Regions from separate parts of the Homo sapiens genome. Here all the other regions are linked to region 3. Evidence: promoter capture Hi-C in human tissues and cell types (Jung and others, 2019). All regions are on one chromosome and are shown on one strand. Each heading gives the region's core, a stretch centred on a gene start or on the middle of the fragment in contact. The rest is flanking DNA. Distances are from core to core; before and after follow the strand shown.

Region 1 (4,342 bases), core at 1,217-3,716, 66 kb after region 3:
CACTTGAGGTCAGGAGTTCGAGACCACCCTGGCCAATATGGTGAAACCCCATCTCTACTAAAAATACAACAAAGTTAGCCGGGCGTGGTGGCAGGCGTCTGTAATCCCAGCTGCTTGGGAGGCTGAGGCAGGAGAATCACTTGAACCCTGGAGGTGGCGGTTGCAGTGAGCACAGATCATGCCACTGCACTCCAGCCTGGGCAACAAAACGAGACTTCGTCTCAAAAAAAAAAAAAAAACATAGAATTTGGATCCTTTGGTCGGGTTCTCCCAAATTCTTTTGAGGTGTCCATGGTCAACTGCTTCAGCTTTGTTTTGGCAACCCCCTGCCCGAAGTCGCATATAGGCTGTTCTTCACCTTGTTTCCAAGGCTGAGGAACAGAAAGTAGCCTCTGTTTTGAGGAGGTGGAAGTTAAGTATACATTTATTTTTTACTGTGACTTGTTCAGGACCACATTTTACAAAATGCCTTGTTTCCTTCATTGTTTCTGGAAAGGAAAGTTCTATTAATATTGTTTTACTTTGAATATAGAATAGTTTTTTTAATTAGGGCTTATTTTGAAAAATTCTGAGTTTAATTCAAATGTATGCCAATACCTTCCAAAGTAAGGTAATATTCAGAGACAGTTGTTGTGATCAGATGGCTTAGAGAAATTTCTGGAATATTCACATTCGAAGATTCCTTATTAATGAATGTCTTTGACTTAAATCTAACCAAAAACTGCAACATTATTCTTTGTACATTTTCATTATATAGTGTTAACAAGCTTAGTTGCAAACAAATAAAATACTTAAGCTATTTGTTTACCTTGCCTTCTTAATACTGTGATAATGTTTATTAATTCAAATAACTTATGTGAGAGCTGCTATAACCATTTCCCCAGTTCAACATTGCATTGAAAATTTATGGACCTTTAAAAAAAAAAGCCCAACAGTGATTTTTTTTTAATAATTAAAGAATGATTTTACTTTGTATTTGAAGGGTGATTTGTTTCATCTCTTCTTTTTTCAGGGTAGTCACTTGTTCCTAAAAGAGGAACATAGCAGTGGCTGTAATGGGAATGGCTCTGCAGTGGGCTAGTCACACCAAAATAAAGAAAGGGCAGCTGTGGGAGCCATCAGAAGCTGTGGAGGCTGGACTGGTAATGGGGAATGCTGCCCCACTGAAGTCTTGTTTTAGAGATCAGTGTGATGTGCTCACTTAACTATAAAGTGTCAGTCCCCATTCCAACTAAGTGGCTCCTGGCTGGGAAGTAGAGTAGGTTTCTCTAAGGAAAATGACACCTGCTCACCACCCGCCCCACTATACCACATTGTTGTTAGGCTATCATATAATGATAAGGTAGCCCTCTGAGGCCACAAGGTAAGACCAAACCACCAGGGCTGGGTTTTGGGATCCCCTCTAAAGAGACCACACATGTTTGTTTAGTGTTTATAATCTAGAGAAAAGACAACTGGGACAGAAAATGGGGACCTGGAAGGTAGGTCTCAGACTGGTGAATGAATTTTTCCCTAGACCTTGATTTCCAGAGCTTGAATTTAAGGGCACTCCCAGGTAGAGAAATGTCTTTGTCCCATGGAAATTATAGACCAAGGAAGACGTCAACCTATAAAAACGTATAAGGGTTTCTCAGGAACAGTGTTTTCAGAATATCTGGTGAGCTAGCTAATTTTTTTCTCTATTTTAATTCCAGTTATTATCCTTGATAAAGTCTTAAGCTTAAGAGGAAAAAGTAAGTGTCCATCCTTGGGTCAGAAGTTAAAAGGAAGATCAGAGCTCCTAAGGCAGTGATAATTGTTAAGATCTTCCAAAGGGGAAGACCATCAGAGAGTACAAGAATTTAAGCCAGCGGGTGGCGCACGCCTGTAATCCCAGCACTTTGGAAGGCTGAGGGGCAGATCACCCGAGGTCTGGAGTTTGAGACCAGCTTGACCAACATGGTGAAACCCCATCTCTACTAAAATACAAAAATTAGCTGGGCGTAGTGGCGGGCGCCTGTAATCTCAGCTACTTGGAAGGCTGAGGCGGGAGAATCAACCTGAAACCATGAGGCGGAGGTTGCAGTGAGCCGAGATTGTGCCATTGCACTCCAGCCTGGCAACAGAGTTAAGACTATGTCTCAAAAAAAAAAAAGGATTTAAGCCAATCTTTCAAACCTGGTGAATCTTCTTACCATGGAGGATTGGTTGGCTAGCATAGTAAAGGACTGACTGCGTGGTTGTAGCTCTGTAGTTTGGTTTCTTCTCTGCCACTAATTTGGTTATGTCAGCCTTGCCAGATTACTAAACTTGCTGAAACATGGCTTGCTTACCTGTAAAATCGAGGTTAATAGTAGGTTCATATTGGGTTTTGTTTTCAAATGCAAGAAATCATCCATGTAAAGAAAGTATTTAGCACAGCTTAGGGCATAGACTATGCACTTTACAATGTTAGAGCAGGTTTCTTTATAGTAGTCTTCGTCAGACCTGGAGACCCAAACTTTTGTGTCCCAAGTAGTGATTCTCAGCTTTCCAATATGAATAGCCCCTTGTTAACATAAAGATCTCACTTTTTCTTATTAGAATTTGTACCTTTGTTTGATTAAGGAAATAAAAGATGAATGACAAATGAATTTGGTAATGCCTTTCTGTGAATCTGTATTCAGTATGTTTTGTATGTTAATATAGCAGGGTCATACAAAAACTGGCCTATTTTTGTAAAGTTTTGTAGAAACACTGCTACACCTATTCATTTGTCTGTGGCAGTTTTCACACTAACTCCAGACTTGAGTAGAGTAGGTGCTACAAAGACCAAAGCATGGGCCACAGAGCTGAAAATACTTACTCTGTGTCCTTTTACAGAAAAGTGTGCTGGCCTTTGCACTAAAGCATGAAGAAACATTTGGGAAAAAGCACACAGGCTGGGCACGGTGGCCCATGCCTGTAATCCCAGCACTTTGGGAGGCCGAGGCGGGCAGATCACCTGAGAATGGGAGTTCAAGACCAGCCTGGCCAACATGGAGAAATCCCATCTCTACTAAAAATGCAAAATTAGCCGGGCGTGGTGGTGCATTCCTGTAATCCCAGCTACTTGGAAGGCTGAGGCAGGAGAATCACTTGAACTTGGGAGGTGGAGGTTGAGGTGAGCCGAGATCACACCATTGCACTCCAGCCTGGGCAACAAGAGCAAAACTCTGTCTCAATTAAAAAAAAGAAAAAAGAGCAACAAACAAGGCAAAGTTACTTCATTTATAATCCTTGTTGCATCATGAGTTGGTCAACACTTACCCTAATTTGTCATTCTTAAGGCTGTTATACCTTAAGTTGAGGTGTGATGAAAATACCCTTTTTGCTTACAAATAAAAACTGATTGCCAAAGTAAGTATGTCACAGAAAAAGCTATTGAACAACTGTTTAGAGCAATGATTCTCAAGGATGGGGACACAGAGCATACTATTTGGGGAGGGAAAAAGATTTGAAATGACCAATTTTATTTCAAGCATTTTTAATTTTGGAATTTTAGGTACAAAAATGGGTGTGAGAATTTTGTTTAACAGAAAATAGCATGGCTTTAAAATAGTTTGTAAAATACTGTTCTTAAGGAACAGAGTGTAATAGTGCCCATGGGCTATTAAAAAGGAACAGAAACTTCTCTACTACTCTGGAGTCCTTTGTTGAAAACAGATTGAGGGAGTGCTGTAGTCTTCCAGAGCTACAGTTAAACTGGATAAGGTTGGACACCTGGAAAAAAGCGTACATTAACCCACCCTAAACCATACTTTTTTTTTTTCTTTTTTTTGAGATGAAGTTTCATTCTTGTTGCCCAGGCTGGAATGCACTGGTGCAATCTCGGCTCACTGCAACTTCCGTCTCCCGGGTTCAAGTGATTCTCCTGCCTCAGCCTCCCAAGTAAGTGGGATTACAGGCATGCACCACCACGCCCAGCTAATTTTGTATTTTTAGTAGAGACGGGGTTTTACCATGTTGGTTGGGTGGGTCTTGAACTTCTGACCTCGTGATCCACTCGCCTTAGCCTCCCAAAGTGCTGGGATTACAGGTGTGAGCCACCGCACCTGGCCACCAAACCATACTTTCAAGTAAATAATTAGCACTTTATTGTACTGAAGGTGTGATATTTTGACAATTTAAAGTTCTGGTCTTCATGGGTCTTTGTTTCGTTTTACTTATTGCTGTATCTAATATCTCCTTTTTTTTTTTCTTTTTTGAGACAGAGTCTCAGTCTGTCACCCAGGCTGGAGTGCAGTGGCGCAATTTCAGCTCACCGCATCCTCCGCCGCCTGGGTTCAAGCAGTTCTGCCTCAGTCTCCTGAATAGCTTGGATTACAGGCGCCCGCCACCACGC
Region 2 (4,668 bases), core at 108-2,607, 87 kb before region 3:
CTACAGGAGTCTGGAGGCCTAAAAGGACTTACGGTGGAGAAGTAACACATGTAGATTCAATAAAACACGTATTTGAGAGGGAAGCCTTTAACAATTTAAACACTGTCAACAATTCTATCTGCTTTATAACTCAGGGAGTACAATCTTCATTATATAGTCGCATCCACCACACATTTATACGTATATATAACATCAGAGACACAGAACTTTATAGGTAATTTAAAGATACTTTCAGCTGGGCGCGATGGCTCACGCCTGTAATCCCAGCACTTTGGGAGGCCAAGGCAGGTGGACCACTTGAGGTCGGGAGTTCGAGATCAGCCGGACCAACATGGAGAAACCCCATGTCTACTAAAAATACAAAAAATTAGCCAGGCGTGGTGGCGCATGCCTGTAATCCCAGCTACTTGGGAGGCTCAGGCAGGAGAATCGCTTGAACCAGGGAGGCAGAGGTTGCGGTGAGCCGAGATGGCATCATTGCACTCCAGCCTGGGCAACAAGAGTGAAACTCCATCTCAAAAAAAAAAAAAAAAATACTTTCAAGGAGCTGACCTAAGAACCTAATCTAGCAAGACAGGGGTCTAATCTAGATGTAAGAGCACTGGAACAGGTAAGGCCAAGATGACCCCATAGATACTAGGGAGAAAGGAATATTTTAGTGTTTCCTGTAGGCCAAAAGGTGAGCAAAGAAAGAATGTCCCGCACCTTTGAGGCTTGAGGTAAATGGGGACAGGGAGAACCTGCAAGTCACAGGGCATTTTAGTAAACTGAGTTTCTAGAAACTGGAAATGAAAAGGAGCTTCATCCATAGGACTGCTAGTACTAAATAAAAGTCTTTTTTTTTTTTTTTTTTTTGAGACGGAGTCTTGCTCTGTCACCCAGGCTGGAGTCCAGTGGCACGATCTTGGCTCACTGCAACCTCCACCTCCTGGGTTCAAGCGATTCTCCTCTCTCAGCCTCCCAAGTAGCTGGGACTACAGGCACACACCACAATGCCCGGCTAATTTTTTGTATTTTTAGTAGAGACGGAGTTTCGCCATGTTGGCCAGGCTGGTCTCAAACTCCTGGCCTCAAGTGATCTGCCTGCCTCGGCCTCCCAAAGTGCTGGGATTATAGGCATAAGCCACTATGCCTGGCCTAAATAAAAGCTTGATGCAACATTCTACTGAAGTTAACAAGGTCTAGGACCCTACATGGTACTGAGGAAAGGGATGGCATGTACCACTAGGGTGGGATGCCCTGGAAAGGAACACAGACACGGAGTAAAGAGAATCAGAAGGATCCCCATGGAGCACTGGGGAACACAGGACAAGAACGGCTCAAAATCCAGGTAAAAAACTATTAGCAGTGGATTCCCAAAAAAATAAGACTGAATTTTTGTGGAGAGCCACTTACATTTTCTCCTACAAACATTGCTGAATTTTTATTTTTTTAACATGAATTATTTTCAAATTATTTAGAAATTTAATCCAGGCAAACTAGAGGTCAATGAGACTTTTCGACATGGTTTCCTAGAAGAATAACTGAAAGATCTTGGAGCCTGAGACCCAGAGAATTTTAGGGGGAGGGATAGCAGTTAGCTTGAGCCCATAAAGAAGTCACAACAATAGAACGGGGACAGAGAAATAACTTGCTGTCTCTCTCCCCTTCTCCCTCTTTAAGCTACTTCTATCGTCAAGAGAATATTTTCTTGGGTACTTTTTAATACTCATTTCTACCTATATCACCAAATAAAATAAGATGTACAAAAATATTCCTCATACACTTTTAGAATGCAAATACACAAATCAATCCTATCAAGTAGGTATTATTTAATAATAATTTCTTAACAGTAGTTACAAACCAATAGTCCTCTAAATTTAATAGCAGCCTTATGCACATTTATAAGATAAACCCACCTAAGCCAAACTTTATAGAGTTTCATAAAAGTATAAAGTGTTTTAAAAGCTAAGATATATTACAGTCAGTCCAGGGGGGAGGTGGAAGGGAGCCAGCAGGAAAAATAAAAATGAAAAATAAAAAGAGTCAGTCCAGATTTGAAAGTGCACTCTCTGTATAAGGCTGTTCCTACTGAGAAAGATACTGTCTAAGACTCAAGCTAAAGACTTCCACAACAAATGTGACAGATTCACTTCACTGATGCAAGGCGGGGAAAAGTAATGAAACCAAGAGGAAGGAGTCCCAAAGCAGATTTATGCCATGAAGAAACAGCCTGACTCCAGTCTCTTGAGATGAATTTGGAAAAGCACCAGTGGAAACACTTCACATGACTTCAATCTCCAGGAAAACGCAAAAAGTGGGTAATTTCTCAATATCAGGCTCCCCAGACAGCCTGGAATTCAACAACAAGATCAAAAACATAAAAGATGTGGCAAAGGGCACACAGGTAGCAGAAAGCTATGGTGTTTGTAATGACAGAGATGGGAATACATTTACACCTTGTTCAGGGCTTTCATATCAAACACACATGTTGTTACCTAAGATGGAGTTTTTCTAGCCCAGCATCTGCAAGGTCATCATTGGCCCTTTGATGAATGTCCCTCTGTGTTTCTATTTTGTGATCATCAGACAGACCATCAACTTTGTGAATAAAAACCTCAAAATTCATGTCTGGGTTAACTTTGTAGGCTTTAGAAACAGTAATGTGAAGTCTTGTTAAAGCCTCCATGTAGTCATCCTGTAAGTCAGAACAAAATATTTTTTAAAATAAATCTTACAAAAGCCAAGTAATGAGTTAAAGCCTCAAACCACCTCTTTCCCCAACCACAGAAAAATACTATCCTAATTATCATCAATATTCAAACATTCAAATATACTATACTACTAAATAACTCTTCAATTGTCTCAAGATAAAAAAATTCAATTACCAAGTTAATGCTTGTAATTTTTAATATTAATTTAAGAAAGAAAAAAATGATATGAACATTTTTTCCCAACATAATTTTTTTAAGTAATCCCAGCTCTGCCATTTATTCAGTGTGTCACTTTAAGCAAGCTGCTTAAACTCTGATCTCAGTTTTCTCATCTGTAAGATCAGAATTACAATACCTACCTAACAATATTGTGAAGCTTAAATTAATTAGGTCCTGTACGTGAAGGCACCCTCTGTAGAGCCTATCACTCAGAAAGCATTCTTAACTAATGCTTAAGCTTATAAAAAGTAAGCTTCTTAAAGGATAGGGACTTGCCCCATTCATCTCACTGACTGCCACATGCTAGGCCCTCCATAAATGTTTGTTGAGCTAAACTCAATTTTGACAATTAAGTAAACTATTCACTCTAATATCTACTGACTCAGTTCTCATATTCCTCTTTATGTTATGGGATGGGATATTTTCAGGGAATAACATCACTATTATTATAAAATTATTATAAAATATGGCAACCAATAAAAGTGGAAAGCCAATGTTAGCTGCTCATCAACTAGGACTCAAGGATGTAAACCATATCTCCTAATCATCTGATATTCTGTACCTGCACAATGCATGTCTGCTCCCAAAGCACTCTGCAACTGCATCTCTTACACTGTTAGGGAATCTACTGCCAAAGAGATAAGCTGCAACCACATGACAAAGAAGATAAACAACTTTCCTTTGTTTCTACATCTTTTTCCCACCAGGAAAGAGGAGTAAACACATTACTGACTACCTGTGCGTCAATGACGTATATCAATGCTCCTGTTCCCCTGAAGATCATCTCATAGTCAAAGGTTGGGTCAAAAAAGTCCATTTGCCCAGGAAAATCCCATATCTGGAAATTCACAAAGGAGCTATTGGAAATGTCATCCTTATAAATCTTGTTGGTACTTTCCAAAAAGAGGGTCTCGTTGGGTGACATCTTATGAAACACCACCTGTTAAAAGAAAACAGGCAATTTTATGACTATTAAACTTCAGAATTTAAATTTAAAATTCCACCCTGGTTTAACATTTAAACATTTGATCCCACAAAAAAAAATTTTTTTTGAAAAGTAGAAACTGAATGGTGAATCCATTGGTATTCACTATCCCTTTATTTTTGACAAAAGAAGACACCAAATTAATTTCCATTAAATCTATTTTGGAGCTAAATCTTTTCTCCTATGTTCTATGCACCATACTCAGTACTAATAGTAGCAATCTCTATCACCTCCATTAGTTTTTCTGGGGGAAAGCTAACATTAATTCTACCAAAATCTGCTTTAAGATTATAAAAGTCTTACAGCTAAAGCTTAAGAAGTCTGGTTTATTCAAAAATTACTTGAATGCCTACCTCAGGCTCTGAGGAGTAATTTAAAAAGTGAAACAGACTGGACTCTGCCCTCACTGACTTTGCAGTCTAAGAAGGGCAGTAACTATACCAAGTAGAAAGTGAAAACGTCCAGGGGGAGGCCACGGGGACTGACAGGGAAAAGATAGCTCTCATGAGAAAAGAAACGTAAAGGCAATTGTTAAGAGTCACAATAATCGGCCCGGGTGCGGTGGCTCACGCCTTCAATCCCAGCACTTTAGGCGGCCGAGGCGGGCGGATCACTTGAGGTCAGGAGTTCGAGACCAGCCTGACCAATATGGTGAAACCCCATCCCCACTAAAAATACCAAAATTAGTCGGGCGTGGTGGTGCACGCCTGTAGTCCCAGCTACTTGGGAAGCTGAGGCAGGAGAATCACTTGAACCCAGGAGGTGGAGGCT
Region 3 (4,677 bases), core at 1,140-3,639:
CACTCGAGTCCAGGAGTTCAAGACCATCCTGGGCAACATGATGAAACCTTGTCTCTACCAAAAATACAACAACAACAACAACAAAAGTTAGCTGGGCATGATGGTGTGCACCTATAGTCCCAGCTATTCAGGAGGCTGAGGTGAGAGAATCAACTGAGATGGGGATGCCGCCACTGCACTCCAGCCTGGGCCACAGAGTGAGGCTCCACCTCAAAAAAAAAACCAAGTAGCTGAGACTACAGGTGCACACCACCACACCAGGCTAATTTTGTTTTATTTTTTGTAGAGAAGAGGTCTCACTGTGTTGCCCAGGCCAGTCTCAAAGTCCTGGACTCAAGCAATTCTCCCACCTTGGCCTCCTAAAGTGCTGGGATTACTACGGCTGGCGTGAGCCACCGTGCCAGGACTTCTTTTTTTTTTGAGACAGGGTCTCGCTTGTTGCCCAGGCTGGCTTTGAACTCCTGGCTTCAAGCAATCCTCCTACCTCAGCCTCCCAAAATGTTGGGACTACAGGCATGAGTCACCGCCCCCAGCCTGGTCTTTCTAATACAGAGAAACTTGAAAGACAGCAAGCACCAGAGCAAAAAGCATGGAGTTTAGAGTCTGACCTAGACTTGAATTCTGGATCCATTACTTATTAGCCATGTGACCTTAGGCAAATCCCTTAACCTGTTTGTATCTTCATTTCCCCATCTATAAAATAGGGTTAATAATAATATCATAAGAGGATTATGATTAAATAAGAGAATGCATTTAAAAGCCCTTAGCCTGCATCCATAGTTTAGGAATTGGTGGTTCCCATCACTTGCTCAGTGTTGAGTGTGCAAATTCAGAAACACAGCATGTCTGGACTCAGCCCTGGTCCAGTATTTTTACCACAAACCAGCACCTGACACCTTCCCTAATCCCATGCCTATGTGGCTCTCCCTTCTTTTTTATTTTATTTTTTAAAGACAAGGCCTCACTTTATTGCCCAGGCTGGTCTCGAACTCCTGGACTCAAGGAATCCTCCCGCCTCGGCCTCCCAAATCACTGGGAGCGAGCCATGGAACCCAACCTTCCCTCTCCCTTCACCACTCCACCCGTCACTGGCCAGTTCTGTTTACACGCTGCCTACGTGCTTTCAAGGCCAGGGGTTGTCTAGCATATCTTTACAAGCCTAAGGTGAGGGAGTTGCTGGTTAGGGAGAGGCATGGCAAGAAGGCAGTCAAAGAGGAAGGGAAAAGCACAGGTGTTTAGGAAGGCTCCACAATGAGCCTGGCACCCAGCTTGGTATTCAACATGCATTGTTCCCTGTCATCTTCATAAAAATATCATTTTGAGCTGGCCGCCGTGCCTCAGTTAACTCAGGAAGCTGAGGCAAGAAGACTGCTTGAGCACAGGAGTTTGAAGTTGTAGTAAGCTATGATCAGCCACTGCACTGCAGCCTGGGCAAGGTAGCAAGACCCTGTCTCTTTAAAAAAAAATTATAGCTGAGGAAACTGAGGCTCAGGAGGTAAACAGGAGATATGGGATAAAAAGCCAAGTGTCTTTGTGACTCCAAAATAATTTTCTGCTCTGCCATGCTGCCCACCAGCTTGTAGATGACCATCAAATGTTTGAGCAATAAGTTTCAGTTTTCTTATTCCCAAGAGGAGCAGAAATTGCGCAGCCCTCCCTCCAGAGAATCCAGGTATATGCTCAAACAGTGATGAATAAACAAATGAACACTAATGAATAAATGAAAGATTGAGTGAAATCTCTCTGATACCCACACCAGGAAGAAGGAAACAAATAACTCTGGAGGAGCCGCCTTGCGGGTAGAAGTGGAGACTGTCTCCCTGGCTGTGGTCTCCAGTGTCCAGGTCAGCAAAGGGCTAGGAACTGGCTTAGTTGGAGTTAGAAAAACTTAGGAGGGTAGGGGGTGCTGGGGAGAACGTGATGGCTGGAGGGAAAGCCAGTGTGAAGGGCAGGGAAGAGGAATGGAATTACTCTGTCCTCATCCTCAGCCCTTCCCTGCCATTTCCCTCGGGAAGATAGCCCCTGACTCCTGGCCCAACATGCTGCCAACTTTTAAAATGAAAGTAGCAGGATCCAAAGCGGCCACACCAGGAGGTCACTCCAGAAGGGGGGTTACCAGCGAAGCACCCCACATGTCCCTCCTCCTTCCTGCACAGCACCCCTCGGCCCTGCACTTCCTGCTGCCGCCCCCTTGTCCTGACATAGGACTCCCTCCACTCCCTCCCAGCTCCCACATCTTACCCTGAAAGACCAAGGTAGGGGCGTCCCAGCCCACGCCCTCCGGTCCTTGCGTTCCAGGCTTCCTGGGCCAAGGGGTTGCCCGCTGCCCTGAAGATCCCGCTCTGCCAGGCGCTCCTCCGTCCCTCCCCAAACAAAAATCCTCCAGACAGGTTCCAAAGCTGCCCAGCCCAGGAGGAGGGAGGCTGAGGAAATCCCCTCCCAGCTGGGCTGGGCCGGCCTGCTTGGCAGTCTTGCTCCTGGGCTGGCCCTGGATGAATGAGTCCTCCTCTTCGCCTGCTTGGGTCTTAGCCAGGGAGCCGGTGGCAGCCTCTGCTCTTTCTCCAGGACACTGAGCTCCATTCCTCCTCCAAGTCCTGCCCTCCTGCTTCATGCCTGGGTCCCCTGCTCTCCACTCTCAGCTCTCTGACGCCTCAACCGGGTGGTCTCTATCACTCTGCATTTGGTTATGCTCCAGTCTGAAGCCAGGCCTGTACTGGGCACCAGGGTGGGTGACTTGACGATCCTCAGCAGAGATTTAGTCCACAGAAGAATTGGTGACACCATGGCCCCTGGTGAAATAGCTTTGCCAGCTCTGATTATTCATTCAAAGCATTTTGAGAATAACTGGCCTTGTGTGAGGCCCTGAGGATGAAGAGGTAGATTAACGGGGTCCCTGACCTCCTACTCTACTAGGAAGACAAAGAATGAAGCTCTAAGTAGACGCTGCTCAAGATTCAGGCAGAAGGTGGCCAGGCATGGTGTCTCACGCCTGTAATCCCAGCACTTTGGGAGGTTGAGGTGGGTGGATCACCTGAAGTCGGGAGTTCGAGACCAGCCTGATCAACATGGAGAAACCTCATCTCTACTAAAAATACAAAATTAGCTGGGCATGGTGGTGCATGCCTGTAATCCCAGCCACTCGGGAGGCTGAGGCAGGAGAATCGCTTGAACCCGGGAGGCGGAGGTTGCAGTGAGCCAAGATCACGCCATTGCACTCCAGCCTGGGCAACAACAGCGAAACTCGGTCTCAAAAAAAAAAAAAAAAAAAAATTCAGGCAGAAGGGACCAGAGAGGAATCCCCCTGTGTGGAAGTGTTCTGGAAAAGCTCCTAGATGACATGACATACAAGATGGGTTTTGAAAGGTGAACAGGGGTTTTCCAGAATTGTAAGCGGGGAGCACACAGAAGGGGAGCACAGGCTGACAGAAAAGGCCATGGGAAGGGACGGAATTCAGCAGGAACTACTCAAAGTTCAGAATTGTGAGCAGGGAGTGTCAGATCATGAAGGGCCTTGTGTGCCTTGGTAAACAGTTTGGACTGTGTCCTATAGGTTCTGGGGAGTCATAGAAAGATTGTTTGTTTGTTTGTTCGTTTGTTTGTTGCAATACAGGGTCTCTCTGGGAGGCAGAGGTTGCAGTGAGCCGAGATTGCGCCACTGCACTCTAGCCTGGGCAACAGAGTGAGACTCCATCTCAAAAAAAAAGAAAAAAGAAAAAATAGGATCTCTCTCAGTTACCCAGGCTAGAGTGCAGTGGTGCACTCATAGCTTGAAGCAGCCTTGAACTCCTGGACTCAAGTGATCCTCCCACTTCAGCTGCCTGTGTAGCTGGGACTACAGGCACCCACCACCATGGTCAGCCAGTTTTTAAATTTTTTGTAGAGATGGAATTTCACTCTGTTGCCCAGGGTGATCACGAACTCCTGGCCTCAAGAGATCCTCCCGCCTTGACTTCCCAGAGCGCTGGGATTACAGGTGGTACACCACACCCTGCTAGCTCACAGATAGGCCTTAAACAAGGGACACAAACTATCAGACTGCATTTAAAATAGATCACTGGAGCCAGGTGTGGTGGCTCACACCTGTAATCCCAGCAATTTGGGAGGTCAAGGCTGGAGGATTGCTTAGGCCCAGGAGTTCGAGACCAGCCTGAGCAACATAGTGGCACCTGTCTCTACAAAACAAATTTTTTTTAATTATCCGGGCAATGGTAGTGTGCACATGTAGTCCCAGCTATACTCCAGAGGCCGAAGTGAGAGGACAGCTTGAGCCCAAGAGGTTGAGGCTGCAATGAGCTATGATCACACCACAGCACTCTAGCCTGGATGACAGAGTGAGACCCTGTCTTAAAAAAAAAAAAATTCACTGAGACCTGCAGTGTAAAGAAGGGTTTGAAGGAGGCAAGACTAGAGGCAAGAAAACCAGTCAGGGTTGCATGAGTCAGGGCAAGTGATAATGTAGGCCTTATCAAGGCATTGGCTAGGGAGTGGGGGTGGGAGTGAGAGAAAGAGATTCAAGAGATGCTAAGGGAGTACCATTGATGGGACTTAAAGAGTAAGGGAGGAATCTAGGATGACTCGAAGATTTCCAGCTGGAATAACTAACTAGGTTGATAGTGGTGACCACAAACAAGATTGAGAAATCAGGAAGAATGGCCAGGCGCGGTGGCTCACGCCTGT

What was found. The method cuts DNA at HindIII sites, captures the fragments that hold promoters and counts their contacts. A contact is called where the count stands out against the background at its distance.
Region 1: a contact is called between a fragment that was not itself captured here and the fragment with the promoter of RHBDL2 in region 3, in 5 of the 25 tissues and cell types used here (H1 embryonic stem cells, IMR-90 fibroblasts, dorsolateral prefrontal cortex and 2 more).
Region 2: a contact is called between a fragment that was not itself captured here and the fragment with the promoter of RHBDL2 in region 3, in 2 of the 25 tissues and cell types used here (bladder and stomach).

Annotation. Positions count from the first base shown.
Region 1 is chr1:39,005,085-39,009,426 of GRCh38, forward strand. AKIRIN1 (akirin 1) reads left to right here. Exons shown (of 5, transcript NM_024595.3): 5 at 1-975. Among named protein-coding and RNA genes, the nearest start is that of AKIRIN1, 16 kb to the left of the region's middle. The HindIII fragment of the contact is 7,880 bases long and covers 1-4,342 here.
Region 2 is chr1:38,853,231-38,857,898 of GRCh38, forward strand. RRAGC (Ras related GTP binding C) reads right to left here. Exons shown (of 7, transcript NM_022157.4): 2 at 3,649-3,852; 3 at 2,478-2,677. Among named protein-coding and RNA genes, the nearest start is that of RRAGC, 4.2 kb to the right of the region's middle. The HindIII fragment of the contact is 4,658 bases long and covers 1-3,686 here.
Region 3 is chr1:38,939,441-38,944,117 of GRCh38, forward strand. It overlaps RHBDL2 (rhomboid like 2), which reads right to left and starts at 2,390. Exons shown (of 8, transcript NM_017821.5): 1 at 2,242-2,390. The HindIII fragment of the contact is 22,458 bases long and covers 1-4,677 here.